2 separate regions of the Homo sapiens genome follow, and region 2 is linked to region 1. The links are contacts of gene promoters, found by promoter capture Hi-C in human tissues and cell types (Jung and others, 2019). All regions are on one chromosome and are shown on one strand. The core of a region is centred on a gene start or on the middle of the fragment in contact, and the rest is flanking DNA. Distances in the headings are between cores, read along the strand shown. Region 1 holds the start of HGF (hepatocyte growth factor). Region 2 has its middle 260 kb from the start of HGF.

The links. The method cuts DNA at HindIII sites, captures the fragments that hold promoters and counts their contacts. A contact is called where the count stands out against the background at its distance.
Region 2: a contact is called between a fragment that was not itself captured here and the fragment with the promoter of HGF in region 1, in 1 of the 25 tissues and cell types used here (mesenchymal stem cells).

What each region holds. Positions count from the first base shown.
Region 1 is chr7:81,768,686-81,771,428 of GRCh38, forward strand. HGF (hepatocyte growth factor) reads right to left here and starts at 1,362. Exons shown (of 18, transcript NM_000601.6): 1 at 1,199-1,362. The coding sequence starts at 1,286. The HindIII fragment of the contact is 8,838 bases long and covers 1-2,743 here.
Region 2 is chr7:81,510,357-81,513,099 of GRCh38, forward strand. No RefSeq gene overlaps it. Among named protein-coding and RNA genes, the nearest start is that of HGF, 260 kb to the right of the region's middle. The HindIII fragment of the contact is 4,651 bases long and covers 1-2,743 here.

The sequences.
Region 1 (2,743 bases), core at 112-2,611:
GCGATTTTAACATGACACATGTCAAGCATGATAACCTGCTTGATTTGAACTCACTGCTTTTTCACTTCTTCAGAAATCTTACCTAAATGCTTTCAGAGTGACCCTTTCCAAACAGTGTCATTTTCCAAACGGGCCACTTCACAAAATAAAAGAAAACCAGGTGGGTTGAATGATTTTCCTTTGCATTTAGAAAATTCTTGAGTTTTTTAACCCTTGTACCATATCAAAAACTAGATCAAAGGTCTGATAAATGTCATATTTACCATCTCAAAAGATACAGCCAGTTCTCTTTTTTATATTGTAAAAAGGCCATGTCTCCATCTGGGCATTTGTTCCCACTCTTTTATTCCCCTGCGCCTACCCTTGATATTCACTGCCTTCTCCCGTTGGCACCTCAGCCTCTACAATGATACAACAAAATACAGATGTTTCCTCTTGCCCTGATAACAAGAGAAACTTCCCAGAGCAGCAAACGAGATCTCTAAATCTCCAAGCAATATGAACTTTCAAGCAACTCCTCCCCAAACGGCAAATCCAAGGGAGAAAGTGGGAGACAGAGATGGGCAGTTCTGCAGCTTTAATCAAAGTCTCCGTGCACTGCAGTTTCAAAGGGCAGGCATCCGTACCCAGAAAGAATAAGATCTTTAAAAAGAGGCTTTCTCTTTCATTTTTATGATATGCAAATACTCAGAGTTTATTCTGCCTCCTCAAAATGAAAACCTGTACAAAGTCGTAATTTGGCTCCAAATGTTGACTAGGTGATGTGGAGTAGTGCATTATCATGAAAAATTGTTCTCTGGAAAAGGATGACTTCCTGCCGGACTGACCATCACTCTTGCCTCTTCAGACCAGACCCTCTCTTTAGCTTTAAACTTGTCCAAAGCAGCCAAGTTCAGCCAGTATTAGCACTTCCTCCCTATCTCATAATCCACAACTATTAGGCTAAGTGGGACGGGGCTTGGGTTGGAGGTGGAGGGGAGTTGAGGGAAAGTTAATTATCATTTTAAATGCTATTCAAACAACAACAAAAAAGAATGTCAAAAAAAGCATAATGAGAGCTTTTAGAAACCTATACTACATACTGAGTTCAGAAAGGATGCTGGGAATAGGGTAAAAAGAGGGTGTTAAAAGGAATAGGGAAGGTTAGCAGGAGAGTTAAATACTAATACTAATAATGAAGAAGAAGAAGGGAACTAACCTGCATAGGGGATGGCGATGGGGAGCAGGAGGAGATGCAGGAGGACATGCTGCAGCAGCAGGGCTGGCAGGAGTTTGGTCACCCACATGGTGCTGCTGGACGGGCTGGCGGATCCCTCTGGAGGAGATGCCTGGGTGAAAGAATCCTGTTCGGAGTCAGTGCCTAAAAGAGCCAGTCGGCTCTGAGCTGCTTTTTATTGCGATGAGCTAAGTTTGTTGTGTGATTAACTGGAAAGATCTAGGTCTGAACTCCCTCTTACGGTAAGAAACTGTTTAACAACAGCCCTTTACTCTCTTCCAGCCCCCTCCTTTCCTCACTCGCCCCCCCTTCAACAGCACCAAACAGATCCCTGCAACCCCCCCCATTCCCCGCCTCCCCCCAACCCCACGCTTAGGAAAGAAACTTACAAAGAAAAGGTCACCTGGCCTGAGGCCAGCTTCAATTTGGAAGCTGGAGCTCCAGATCCCAGTGGCTCCTATCCGAGTAAGGAAGGGAGGAGCAAGGCTGAGCCCAATGGCTAAATCAAGGCACAGGCAGGGGACCAATTCGCTCAATTTAAACAGGAAAATACATGTGTTTATATATCTATTTGGGAAAAGAGGAAGGGGAAGCAGCATAAGAAGAAAGCGAAGAGCTGTCTTTCAGCCAAATGTGCCCCAGCTCCTAATCTGTCTAGTTTTCCTGCTAGAGCAACTGAGGGATTCAAAACACTGACACAGGTTCTCTAGGGGTTTAGAGACCTGGGAGAGGTGGGAGCGGGGCCAGGGAGGAGAGCCCAGGCACGTCCAGCCCAGGTAGAAAGAGGTTAGTTAAGAAAAGGGTGTGGTATTGTGGGGCCAAAATAAGCAAGCAAAACAAAAGCACGCAGATTGTCAGATGAAAAAATTGCCCCTGCCCCATGGGCTCAGAGCAGGCAGCTTTTTTTTTTTTTTTTTTTTTTTTTTTTTTTCACAAACTGCCAAACTCACGAAATACCACACATTTACCCAAAGTATACAAAATAAACTTGTCTGATCTGACTTTTTAAGAGAAAGTCCAAGAAACAGTCATTGTCCATAGCCTGTCCCTGACAGGTAAATATGCCATGTGGACTTGTACAGGCACACACGTGCACACAACACATTCACACATGTTGGTGTGTATGTACGTATACACTGGTTAGGACTGACTTTCACCGGAAATCCCTCAAGCTGTTTGAATTCGTGAGTACTGAATATGCCTCTCTTTTCCAGCTTCATCTGCCTGTACACGACAGCCAGCTTCCCAAAGTGTAAGTGGAAAGATGAGGAGCTTGTATGGGCATGGGGGGACTCCTAGGTATCAAATCCTTGTGAGATCATTGCCCAGACCCCTCACTTGATTCAGAGAATTTGTCTTTGCACCCAGAGGTGGATGCTCTGGTAACTTTAAGCAAGAGCCTGCTTTATTTCTAATGGATGCTGAGGGATACTTGCCCCTGTATCTCTCTGAGATGGATATTAGTAGAGAACAGTGCCCCTGTCCACAGAGGAAAAGAAAGCAGGCCAAATGTGGGAATGACTAGAG
Region 2 (2,743 bases), core at 171-2,670, 260 kb before region 1:
CTGTGGCTTCAGTGGGTGGAAGCCCCAAGTCTTGGCAGCTTCCACGTGTTGTTGAGCCTGCGGGTACACAGAAGTCAAGAACTGAGGTTTGAGAACCCCCGCCTAGATTTCAGATGTGTGGAAATGCCTGGATGTCTAGGCAAAAGTTTGCTGCAGAGGCAGGGCCCTCATGGAGAACCTCTGCTAGGGCAGTGCAGAAGGGAAATGTGGGGTCAGAGCCCTCACACAGAGTGTCTGCTGGGGCACTGCCTAGTGGAGCTGTGAGAAGAGGGCCACCATCCTCCAGACCCCAGAATGTTAGATCCACAGACAGCTTGCACCGTGCACCTGGAAAAGGCACAGACACTTAATACCAGCCCACAAAAACAGCCACGAGGGAGGCTGTACCCTGCAAAATCACAGGGGTGGAGCTGCCAAAGACCATGAGAACCCATCTCTTGGATCAGTGTGACTTGGATGTGAGACCTGGAGTCAAAGGAGATCATTTTAAAGCTTTAAAATTTGACTGCCCCGCTGGATTTCAGACTTGGATAGGCCCTTTAACCCCTTTGTTTTGGCCAATTTCTCCCATGTGGAATGGCTGTATTTACCCAATACCTGTACCCCCATTATATCTAGGAAGTAACTAGCTTGCTTTTGATTTTACAGGCTCGTAGGCGGAAAGGGACTTGCTTTGTCTCAGATGAGACTTTGGACTATGAAATTTTGGGTTAATGCTGAAATGAGCTAAGACTTTAGGGGACAGTTGGGAAGGCATGATTGGTTTTAAAATGTGAGGAGATGAGATTTGGTGGGTCCAGGGGCGGAATGATATGGTTTGGCTCTGTTCCCACCCAAATCTCAACTTGAATTGTATCTCCCAGAATTTCCACTTGTTGGGGGAGGAACCCAGGGGGAGGTAATTGAATCATGGGGGCTGGTCTTTCCTGTGCTATTCTCGTGATAGTGAATAAGTCTCACCAGATCTGATGGGTTTATCAGGGGCTTCCACTTTTGCTTCTTCCTCATTTTCTCTTGCTGCCAACACGTAAGAAGTGCTTTTCACCTCCCGCCATGATTCTGAGACCTCCACAGCCATGTGGAACTGTAAGTCCAATTAAACCTCTTTTTCTTCCCAGTCACGGGTATGTCTTTATCAGCAGCGTGAAAACAGACTAATACATGTACCCAAATATAAATAATGGCTAGTCAACGCTGCATTTAACAAATGTTTAGAAATATTAGTTTTTTAAAGGCTATCGTAAAATATATAGGTGTGTTTGTGTGTTTACTCACTCTCAAGCAAATGTAAGTGATAACCTATCTGCATATCATTTTCCCTTCTTACACAATGAATTAGTTGAAACACAGAATTTCTAAGGTTACTTCTGGTTTGGTTACACTTTTTGCACATATGTCTCCCTGCAGAGATGTGCGTATTATATTAGTACACATATAAATATAAAAGCTGATACTGGTTATGGAGAAAAGATGGACCATTTGCTACAGTCTTTGGTAATAAATTCATAAGTCACAGGTTGGTAATCATTTCAAGACAGTATTAATTGGTTTGCCTCTTTTAGCAAGCCTAATGTAGATTACTAAAGGAAGTATATAGATTAGAATACCCCTTAGCTCAACTACAAATTTTAGAATCCTTTCACATCTTGTTGCAAAATTTGTTTATCTATAATGTTTTATTACAATGTCTTCTGCTTTGCTAGATTTTGCTTTACTAATTGGGAAACTGAATGATGGAAATCCATGTGTTAACATAAATTAGGAACTTTTTTTTCCTCGATGATACAGGCTAAATATGATCTCTCCCAAAGGAGCAAGATCTATTATAGCAGAGAAAATTGACTCAAAATTAAAGAGATGAGGTTCATGTTGAGCCAGAAATGAAAAACAACATTTTTTAACTGTTTGAAATTCTACGATAATACCTTACAATATCACTGACAATATAACTTAGTCTTAGGCAATATTTACCTGACTTATCAAACAATTTTAATATATATTTGTGGAATATGAAAGAAAGTTATATTGTCATATGCCATGGAGTGGGGAGCAGGACTCAGAAGCATTTTGCTGATGACCAGGAGAATATTCATGATTTAAATAATAAATTATAGAGTTTAACTATATAAAATGTATGACTAAAAGCTCTAAAGCAGATAACACAGTTTTAGTGAAGCACTAAATAAGTGAGAATATTTTATCTGTGAGGGTAATTTGAGGAGCACTTTACCATATTAAATACTAATAGTTTTACAAAGTTCATGGGCATCTCAGATTATTTTCCTTTCAATTATTTTACAACTACTTTTTATGATACCTAACACATACACAAAAGTATAAAAATATTACAATAATCCACCAGATAGCCATCATACAATACCAATAGTTGTCAATGTATACTGTTTTATTTAATCTTTATTCTTTCTTACTCCTCTCCACCCCAAATTATTTTAATCCAAAGGTTAGACATCCTATCCTTTCATCCGTAAGAAGTTCTTAATTCTAAAGTATTCAATTTTCTAATTTTTTTTCTTATTCTAGTTTTGTGTTGTCTTATTTATGAAATCTTTCCCTATTACAAAATTAATAAGGTAGTCTCTTAAATTCTTTCTAAAGTATAGTTATTTTATTTATTATTGCCATTTTATGTCTATAATGCATTTAGACTTGATTTATAGGGGATTGTTTCTACTATGTCTATATGCATATCAGTTGCCCAGTATAATTTCTTGAAACTCTCATC